Regions from separate parts of the Homo sapiens genome. Here all the other regions are linked to region 2. The links are contacts of gene promoters, found by promoter capture Hi-C in blood cells and fetal thymus (Javierre and others, 2016). All regions are on one chromosome and are shown on one strand. The core of a region is centred on a gene start or on the middle of the fragment in contact, and the rest is flanking DNA. Distances in the headings are between cores, read along the strand shown.

Region 1 (3,287 bases), core at 79-2,578, 360 kb before region 2:
ACTGCTGACACTCCCGGCCAAATAAAGCCCTTTCTTTCCTAAACTCGGTGTTTCGAGGGGTTTTGTCTGCAGCTCTTCCTGCTACAAAGGGAGCTCGACAAGATGCAAAACGGAGTTGAAAATTAGCACACAGAAACTTCTAAAGCCACCCAGGAAATGAAGGAAGAAATCTTAACAATAAATCAATCAGAGCTTCTGGAATTGAAACACTCATGGAATTTCAAAATACAATTGAAACTTTACCAATAGACTGGGCCAAACAGAATAAAGAATTTCAGAGCCTGAAGACCAGTCTTTTGAACTAACCCAGACAGACAAAAATATAGAAAAAAAATTTTTAATGAACAAAATCTTCAAGAAACACAGAATTACTTAAAGTGACCAAACCTACACATTATTGGCATTCCTGAGAAGGGAGAAAAAGTAAACAACCTGGAAAATGTAATTGAGGGAATAGCTCAAGAAAATTTCCCTAATCTTGCTAGAGAGGTAGACATCCAGATAGAAGAAATCCAGGGAACATCTCTGATGTGGTTTGGCTCTGTCCCCACCCATATCTCTTCTTGAATGGCAGCTCCCATATCCCCACGTGTTGTGGGAGTGACCTGCTGGGAGATAACTGAATCACGGGGGTGGGTTTTCCCATGCTGTTCTCATGATAGTGAGTAAGTCTCAAGAGATCTGATGGATTTATAAAGGGCAGTTCCCCTGCACAAGCTCACTTGTCTGCCGCCATGTAAAGCGTGCTGTTGCTCCTCCTTTGCCTTCCGGCATGATTGTGAGGCCTCCCCAACCATGTAGAACTCTAAGTCCATTAAACCTCCTTTCCTCTATAAATTAACCAGTCACAGGTATGTCTTAATTAACAGTGTGAGAACAGACTAATACAGTAAATTGGTACCGGAAGTGGGGTGCTGCTGTAAAGAACCCAAATATGTGAAAGCAACTTTGGGACTGGGTAACAAGCAGAGGTTGGAACAGTTTGGAGGGTCCAGAAGAAGATATGAAAATGTGGGAAAGTTTGGAACTTACTAGAGACTTGGAGGGCTCAGAAGAAAGGAAGATGTGGGAAAGTTTGGAACTTCCTAGAGATTTGTTGAATGTCTTTGACCAAAATGCTAATAGTGATATGGACAAGAAAGTCCAGGCTGATGTGGTCTCAGATGGAGATGAGGAACTTGTTGGCAACTGGAGCAAAGGTGACTCTTGCTATGCTTTAGCAAAGACACTGGCAGCATTTTGCCCCTGCCCTAGAGATCTGTGGAACTTTGAACTTGAGAGATGATTTAGAATATCTGGCAGAAGAAAATTCTAAGTGGCAAAGTGTTCAAGAGGAAGCAGAGGATAAAAGTTTGGAAAATTAGCAGCCTGACAATGCAGTAGACAAGGAAAACCCATTTTCTGGAGAGAAATTCAAGCCTGCTGTAGAAATTTGCATAAGTAACACTTGGTTAATCACGAAGACAATGGGGAAAATGTCTCCAGGGAGTATCAGAGACCTTCAAGGCAGCTTAGGAGTTAAAAATGGTTTTGTGGGCTGGACGCAGGGCCCCCCTGCTGTGTACAGCCTAGGGACTTGACGCCCTGTGTCCCAGCTGCTCCAGCCATGGCTAAAAGGGGCCAAGGTACAGCTCAGGCCATGGCTTCAGAGATTGAAAGCCCCAAGGCTTGGCAGCTTCCACATGGTGTTGGTCTTACAGGTGCACAGAAGACAAGAATAAGGTTTGGAAACTTCCACCTAGATTTCAGAGGTTGTATGGAAATGCCTGGATGTTCAGTCACAGGTGTGGCTGCAGGGGCAGAGGGCACCAAGTTCTCAGACTGCACAAAGCAGCAGGACCCTGAGCCCAACCCACGAAACCATTTTTTCCTCCTAGGCCTCCTGGCTTGTGATGTGAGGAGGTGCTATGAAGACCTCTAACATGCCCTGGAGACATTTTGCCCATTGTCTTGACAATTAACATTTGGCCCCTTGTTACTTATACAAATTTCTGCAGCTGGCTTAAATTTTTCATCAGAAAATTAGTTTTTCTCTTCTATTGCATTGTTAGGCTGCAAATTCTCTGAAATTTAGTGCTGTGCTTCCCTTTTAAATACAAGTTCCAATCCCAAACCATATCTTTGTGAAGGAATAAAACCGAATGCTTTTAAGAGCACCAAACATCTTGAACACTTTGCTGCTTAGAAATTTCTTCCACCAGATACCCTAAATCATCTCTCTCAAGTTCAAAGTTCCACAGATCTCTAGGGGACAAAAGGCTGCCAGTCTCTTTGCTAAAGCATAGCAAGAATCAACTTTGTCCAGTTCCCAATAAGTTCCTCATCTTCATCTGAGACTATCTCAGCCTGGACTTTTTGGTGAAAACCATTCAACAAATCTCTAGGAAGTTCCAAACTTTCCCACATCTTCCTGTCTTCTTCTGAGTCCTCCAAACTGTTCCAACCTCTGCCTGTTATCCAGTTCCAAAGTTGCTTCCACATTTTTTTTTTTTTGAGATGGAGTCTCACTTTTTTCACCCAGGCTGGAATGCAGTGGCACGATCTTGACTTACTGCAACCTCGGCCTCCTGGGTTCAAGTGATTCTCCTGCCTCAGCCTCCCAAGCAGCTGGGATTATAGGCACTCGCCACTACGCCTGGCTAATTTTTGTATTTTTAGTAGAGACGGGATTTCGCCATGTTGGCCAGGCTGGTCTCAAATTCCTGACCTAGGTGATGATCATCTGCCTCCCTCGGCCTCCCAAAGTGCTAGGATTACATGCATGGGCCACCATGCCTGGCCTCAGGTATCTTAATAGCAGTACCCCACTCTACTGGTACCAACTTATTATATTAGTCCATTTTCATACTGCTATAAAGAAATACTCAAGAATGGGTAATTTATTTAAAAAAAAAGAGAGAGAGGTTTAATGGACTCACAGTTCCACATGGCTGGAGAGGCCTCACAATCATGGCAGAAGACAAAGGAGGAGCAAAGGCACATCTTACATGGTGGCAGGCAAGAGAGCGTGTGCAGGAGCCCTTTATAAAACCATCAGATCTCATGAGACTTCTTCACTATCATAAGAACAGCGTAGGAAAAAGCCACCCCTATGATTTAATTACCCCCACTGCGTCCCTCCCATGACACATGGGGATTGTGGGAGCTACAATTCAAGATGAGATTTGGGTGGGGACACAGCCAAACCATGTCGGCCTCTGAGATCTATTCAAAATGAACATCACCAAGGCATATAGTCAACAGACAGCCCAAGGTCAACACACACACACACACACACACACACACAC
Region 2 (3,126 bases), core at 578-3,077:
GAGGAAGAACCATCTTCACCGGCTCATCCAGGATGGAGGGTGGAGGAGGAGCTGTCACGGCCAAGGGACTGAGGAGATGCTCGTGATGCCACCTCAGGATTCTGCAGAACCTGGCCTCGAACTGAACTCTGGAGAGAAAGAATCAATGATGACTGCAAAATTTTGAGAGTGGAGAACCGAGGAAGAAGGAATTGAAAAGTAAAAAAGGGAAAAAAAAGATGATTGAGTTCAGTTTTCCAAATGTCAGATTTCCAATCTATGAGGGACGTGGCTAACGTTTCCTCCAACAGTCATCGAAAGCAGGGTCGCCTTTGGCTGGCGCGGCGTGAGGGCCGCACCAGGGCAACAGAGAGTGGCCCGCTCAATGCCACGTGACCTGCACAGCCACAGGGTTCCATTTCCTTCACGTTTTTTTTCCTTTCTTTCCTTCCTTCCTTATCTCCCTCCCTCCCTCCCTCCCTCCCTTTCTCTCTTTTCCTCCCCTTCCTTTCCTTTTCCTTCCTTCCTCTCCTCCCCTCTCTTCTTTTCTTTCTTGGAGTCTCACTCTATTGCCCAGGCTGGAGTGCAATGACACAATCTCCGCTCATTGCAACCTCCACCTCCTGGGGTCAAGCGATTCTCCTACCTCAGCCTCCTGAGTAGCTGGGATCACAGGTGCATGCCACCATGCCCGGCTAATTTTTGTATTTTTAATAGAGATGGGGTTTCACCATGCTGGCCAGGCTGGTCTGGAGCTCCGGACCTCGTGATCCGCCTGCCTCAGCCTCCTAAAGTGCTGTGATTACAGGTGTGAGCCACCGCGCCCAGCCTCCTTCACTTTTTTTCAAAAGCGAGAGCACCCTCATGTACACTGGGAGCTCACTTGAGCACCTTGGTGCTTCACCAGTGAAGGAGGGCTTGGGAGCCGCTTTGACCGTCATTAAAATAGCATTTCAATGATAATACATCAAAAATGTAGTAATATGAAAACTGAAAAACTCCAGTGATGTTTCAAAGCAATGCAGTTTAAAAAAACCAATTCAATCCATTAACCAAAATAAACTTGGGGGAAACAACGCATTTTCTATGCTGGCAAGCAGATGGCCAAGACTGCGTCTGTCTGGGGTGAAAATGCAGGTTGCATCCTGTAGGAAGCCAGCATAGGGACGGGCTGCTCACCTCCCAGGGCGGCAAGGCAGCCGCTGACTCCAGCAGGCCTTGAAACCTCCCCTGCAGACGTAAGAGCATCGTCTCAGGCAGCGCGGCCGCCAAGGTCTCACTGTATCATTCCAAAGCGGGCGAATTTCGAAACATCCAGCTGCTGGCAGCAATAGCAGAACCCACCATGAGGCTCCAGGCATTCGGATGCCGCCAGCGAGGCCAGCAAGCCCACCTCTCCCTGAGCTGCAGTTCGGCTTTCTTCCTCCACAAGCAGGGACGTGGCTTCAGGAACCCGCTGGAGGAGACAAGGGGCCTCCGTGGTCTCAGCCCTCGCTTTGCGCATGGGCTCTGGCCTCGGCACCTGGGCATCTCCATCCTCCCGAGGGCAGTCGGAGGCTGAATGTCTTCAACAGGAGCACAGGCAGGAGAGAGAGAGCTCAGATGTGCTCGAGGCCGGGGTCCACCCCTGTTCTCCTGTGAGAGGGAGGCTGTGAAAATCCAGGAGACAACATCAAAGCGTTGTTTTCCAACACACTGGCCTGCGCGCCCTACGCTTTATGCAGATGAGGGATGGCGCAAGCACAGGCCTGCGCGCAGGGCTTTAGGCAGATGAGGGATGACGCAGGCACAGGCCTGAGCGTCGCACGCTTTGCGTAGATGAGGGATGGCGCCGGCGCAGGCCTGAGCGTCGCACGCTTTGCGTAGATGAGGGATGACGCAGGCACAGGCCTGAGCGTCGCACGCTTTGCGTAGATGAGGGATGGCGCCGGCGCAGGCCTGCGCGCCACGCGCTTTAGGTGGATGAGGGATGGCGCAGGTGCAGGCCTGCGCGCCTCACGCTTTATGTACATGAGGGATGAGGCAGCACAGGAATTGGCACAACCTGAAGTCAGCTCTGCAGCTTTCCAAGGTATGAATGCCCGGGGAGCCAGCGCAGACCCCAGCACACCCCCTGGGCCCAGTGTCCCTGGAAAAGGACATTTCAGCTGAGCTAGGAAGGCTGAGAACAGTTTCCAAAGATACCTGTGATTCAGGTCTCCATTTGTGTCCCAAATGAAAGCGAGTGAAATGAAATATATATATATATAGTTTTTGAGGTTTTGACAGACCCTAAGTCATAGTAGTTTAAAGTAGACAAAAACTATTTTCCTCCCCAATGTGAAACTGTTTTAATTAGTGAGGATTAGTTTCAATGGTGAATGATAGAAAACCCCAAATAATAGAGGCCAAAACCCTTGCCATTTGGAGTGTCGTCAGCATTTCAGCAGGAGATGATGTAAGTCACAAGCCCGGGCTCTCTGGTCAGAGCTTGCATTTTGACAAGATCTGCAGGTGACTTATAGGCATGCTAAGCTTTGAAATAAAAGGGGGGTTTACTTCTCTCTCATATTTAAGTCTGGAAATGATCTCCCAACACTCAGTATTTGCCCCAGGAAGTCAGCAAGCCAGGATTTTTTTTTTTCATTTTCCAGCTTCGTTCTGCGTGTCCTGTACTCAACAGTCATCTCATGCTGCAGGGTGGCTGCGTGTGCTCCGTACATCACACCCATATTTCAGGTAGGGACGGTTCCCGGAGGGTGCTCAGCACCATGCCGACTACTGCTGGCTGGCACGTTCGCACGTGGCCATGTCAGCTCCAAGGAGGATGCTGACATCCTGCTGGCTGGCACGTTCGCACGTGTCCATGTTAGCTGCGAGGGCCATGCCGACATCCTGCTGGCTGGCACTTCCACAGGTAGCCATGTTAGCTGAGAGGGCGATGCCAACATCTTGCTGGCTGGCACGTTTGCACGCGGCCATGTTAGCTGCGAGGACAATGCTTCTGCAACTTTTGGTTTCTTCCCTTTCATCCTCCCACCCCTGACCGTTTTTGCCTGGGAGCAAGTGCCTAATAAATTACCTGCACTCAAATCTTTGGCTCAGAGACTTTCCGAGAGAACCCAAGCTGAGGCAGACAATGAAATCAACACTACCAGCCACTTAGCT
Region 3 (3,422 bases), core at 473-2,972, 450 kb before region 2:
CCTGTGATGCCCATTTTTCTTGTTTTTTTTTTTTTTGTTGTTGTTGTTTGTTTGTTTGCTTTTATTTGAGACAGAGTGTTGCTCTGTCCCCCAGGCTGGAGTGCAGTGGTGCAATGTTGGCTCACTGCAACCTCCACCTCCCAGGTTCAAGCGATTCTCCTGCCTCAGCCTCCTGGGTGGCTGAGACTACAGGCATGTGCCACCACGCTAGGCTAGTTTTTATATTTTCAGTAGAGACAGAGTTTCACCATGTTGGTCAGGCTGGTCTCAAACTCCTGACCTTGTGATCCACCCAACTCAGCCTCTCAAAGTTCTGGGATTACAGGCATGAGCCACTGCATCCAGTCTTGCCTTTAAAAAAAATAAATAAAGTGGGCGAGCTCATGGTCGAGATGCCCAACCAGATGACACTCCCAACACACACTTTTCAAAGCCTAAAATGCCTCGTCTCCTGTGCTGCCCATGCTGTAGTTGTTTCCAGTGGACAAGTCTGTGTCATGGCTGGCAGTAGAAGTCTGTGAAAAATATTTTCATGTGCATATAATGTAAACACAAGTCCAGATTGGAGGAAAAGGATAAGTATTTCTGGAGGGATGTCTCCAACAAAAATAATGAAACTGATAGAATTGGCATATTGAGAGGAGATGGAGGTTGAATTATTTTGGGGATAAATGATATTTACATAGTCATAATAATGTAAATTCTGAGAATTGACATAAACAAAAACCAAAATATTTAGGGAGGAACAGGATAGGAAATGTTTGTGTGTGAGCATAGAGAGCAAGAGGAAAATTAGAAAGCCAAGTCCGACTGGGCCAGGCGAGGTGGCTCATACCTGTAATCCCAGCACTTTGGAAGGCTGAGGTGGATGGATCACTTGAGCTCAGGAGTTCAATACCAGCCTGGGCAACATAGTGAGACCCCGTTTCAAAAAAAAAAAAAAAAGACAGCCAAGTCCTCATCTGGGGGATGTAGACTGTCAATAAGTAGTATCTAAAATTTAAAAATAAAGACCTAGCACTATGAGCTTACTATTTAGAAATACGAAGTGAAGCCAGGTGCGGTGGCTCACGCCTGTAATCCCAGCACTTTGGGAAGCCAAGGCAGGTGGATCACGAGGTCAGGAGATCAAGACCATCCTGGCTAACACGGTGAAACCCCGCCTCTACTAAAAATACAAAAAATTAGCCAGGCATGGTGGTGGGTGCCTGTAGTTCCAGCTACTTGGGGGGCTGAGGCAGGAGAATGGTGTGAACCTGGGAGGCAGAGCTTGCAGTGAGCGGAGATCGCACCACTGCACTCCAGCCCAGGCGACAGAGTGAGACTCTGTCTCAAAAAAAAAAAAAAAAAAAGAAAAGAAAAAGAAAAAAGAAATGTGAAGTGAACACCAAAGGAAACATCAGAAAAGCACAGTGTACTTGCCCGTAGGAAATGGAATCAGTCTGGAAATTGCTTCATTGGAAGTCTAATTATGCAGGTACACAATTTTTATGGGGAAAAATAACATATGCAGAGATGTGCATAAATACTTTGATATTTAACAAATAAGTAGAAATCCAACTAATTCTCAACCAGGTTCTAAAATTGATTTTCATTTCTTTTGCAAAATATATAGAAATGTGAATAAATGTTACAGGTAGCACTTAAATGATTGAAAATCCAACTAACCATGAGCCAAGTCAAGACATTGAACATGATTGTCATCCTAAAAGTCCTTCATGCATCACTTCCTGACTGCAATTCCCTCATTCCTACCAAGACAGACCATTCTCCTGACTTGCACAGTGATACTTTTCTTTACCACCATTGCATGCATCCCTGTAAAATATGGTTTAATTTTGCTTACTTTTGAACTTTGTATAATGTTGATATATTTTTTTCCACTCTCCTTTAGGTTGGTAGATTCATCCATGCTGTTTCACGTAGCCTACCTTTTTTTCCTCTAACTAAATATTTTTTGAATGAATATATTAGAGTGTATTGATTCATTCTATCATTCTACTGTTGATGGACATTTGGGCTGTTTCCAGATTTGGCTATTATAGGACAAATATACTATAATTTCATAAGTAGTATAATATATGTGGTTACATACTATCATATATATGATACGCTGGTGAACATAAATGCACTTTTCCCCCAGAACTCTGAATTGCTTTCTATGCCAGAAGTTGCCAAGCATTTATGAGCTCTCTATTCTGTTCCACGTATCTATCTTTTCATTCCTGAACCAATACTACATGGTATTAATGCAGCCAATAACATCCACAAAACTGATAGCAGAAGATCTCTTGTGCCTTCCTTCCCCACCTCCCTTCTTCTCCTTCTCCAATGCCTTGGCTCTTCCTGTGCCTGGAATTTTTGCATATTTTGAATTACCTTGTCATGTGTACCTCCCTCACCCCAAATACCTCCTGGGATCTGAGTGGGATTGAACTGAATCTAGAAATCAACTGAAAGATTAACCACCTCTCTGCATTTTGATTCTCCACAACACGGCACATCTCTGCATTTGTTTAGGTTTTCAGCAATGTCTTTCAGTCTTTCAGTAAAGTTTTATAATTTTTCTCATAAAAGTTTTTCACACTATTCTTTTTTATCTATTATAATTGCTATTGGTGATGCTATTGGTGATTTTTAAATGGTATATTTTTAAATGACATTTTCTATTTGTTGCTTTTATATAGAATACAATTGAATTTTTATACTGATATTGTTTTTGGTAACCCCCCATAAACGTTCTTACTAATTCCAATAGTTTATCTGTAAAATATTTTTTAATGTACTACAGATAAAATTGTTTTATCTACAAAAAATGGTGGCTTAGTTTTTTCCTTTCCTCAGCATTGCCCAGGTGAGGCCTCTCTGCAGCGGTTCACCCCTGAATTTCTGCTTGCCATTGCCCCAGTACAGGCTCTCTGCGGTGGCTCTGCTCCTGTGACAAGTCCCTGCCTGGGGCCGCAGGCTGTCCATGACATCTCTTGAAATCTAGGTGGAGGCTGCCCCACAGCTCTAGCATTCTTCTTGCCTAAAAATTGGCACCACATGGATGCCACCAAGGTTTATAGCTTGTACTTTCCAGAGCCATGGCTGCAGCCACAGCTGCGGTGACTGAGCACTGCACTGGTTGTGGGTTCCCTGGAGCTCCCGGTCAGTGATGGGGGCAGCCTTGAAGATCTTGGAGGTGCCTTCAGGGTCATTCTCCCTGTCCTGATGATTCCTTCTCTCCCCAGTCATCTCCTCAGTGAACAGTCACTTGGCCACACCCTTGGTTTGCTCTCCCAAACTCACCTTTTTATTCTTTACATGGTCAGGCTGAAAAACTTCAAAATCCTTCCATTTTGCTTCTCTTTTAATTATGAATTCCATCTTTAAGTCATTTATCTCATATCTGACTGTATGTGATTTAAAGTAGCCACACA

What was found. The method cuts DNA at HindIII sites, captures the fragments that hold promoters and counts their contacts. A CHiCAGO score of 5 or more calls a contact.
Region 1: a contact is called between a fragment that was not itself captured here and the fragment with the promoter of LINC00200 in region 2, in 1 of 17 cell types (monocytes). The highest score is 5.5, in monocytes.
Region 3: a contact is called between a fragment that was not itself captured here and the fragment with the promoter of LINC00200 in region 2, in 1 of 17 cell types (neutrophils). The highest score is 6.5, in neutrophils.

The regions. Positions count from the first base shown.
Region 1 is chr10:795,514-798,800 of GRCh38, forward strand. No RefSeq gene overlaps it. Among named protein-coding and RNA genes, the nearest start is that of DIP2C, 110 kb to the left of the region's middle. The HindIII fragment of the contact is 4,290 bases long and covers 1-3,287 here.
Region 2 is chr10:1,157,941-1,161,066 of GRCh38, forward strand. It overlaps LINC00200 (long intergenic non-protein coding RNA 200), which reads left to right and starts at 1,828. Exons shown (of 3, transcript NR_015376.2): 1 at 1,828-2,050; 2 at 2,613-2,697. LOC105376344 (a long non-coding RNA gene) reads right to left here and starts at 1,822. Exons shown (of 3, transcript XR_930535.3): 1 at 1,324-1,822; 2 at 1-128. The HindIII fragment of the contact is 5,498 bases long and covers 1-2,491 here.
Region 3 is chr10:703,976-707,397 of GRCh38, forward strand. No RefSeq gene overlaps it. Among named protein-coding and RNA genes, the nearest start is that of DIP2C, 16 kb to the left of the region's middle. The HindIII fragment of the contact is 7,827 bases long and covers 1-3,422 here.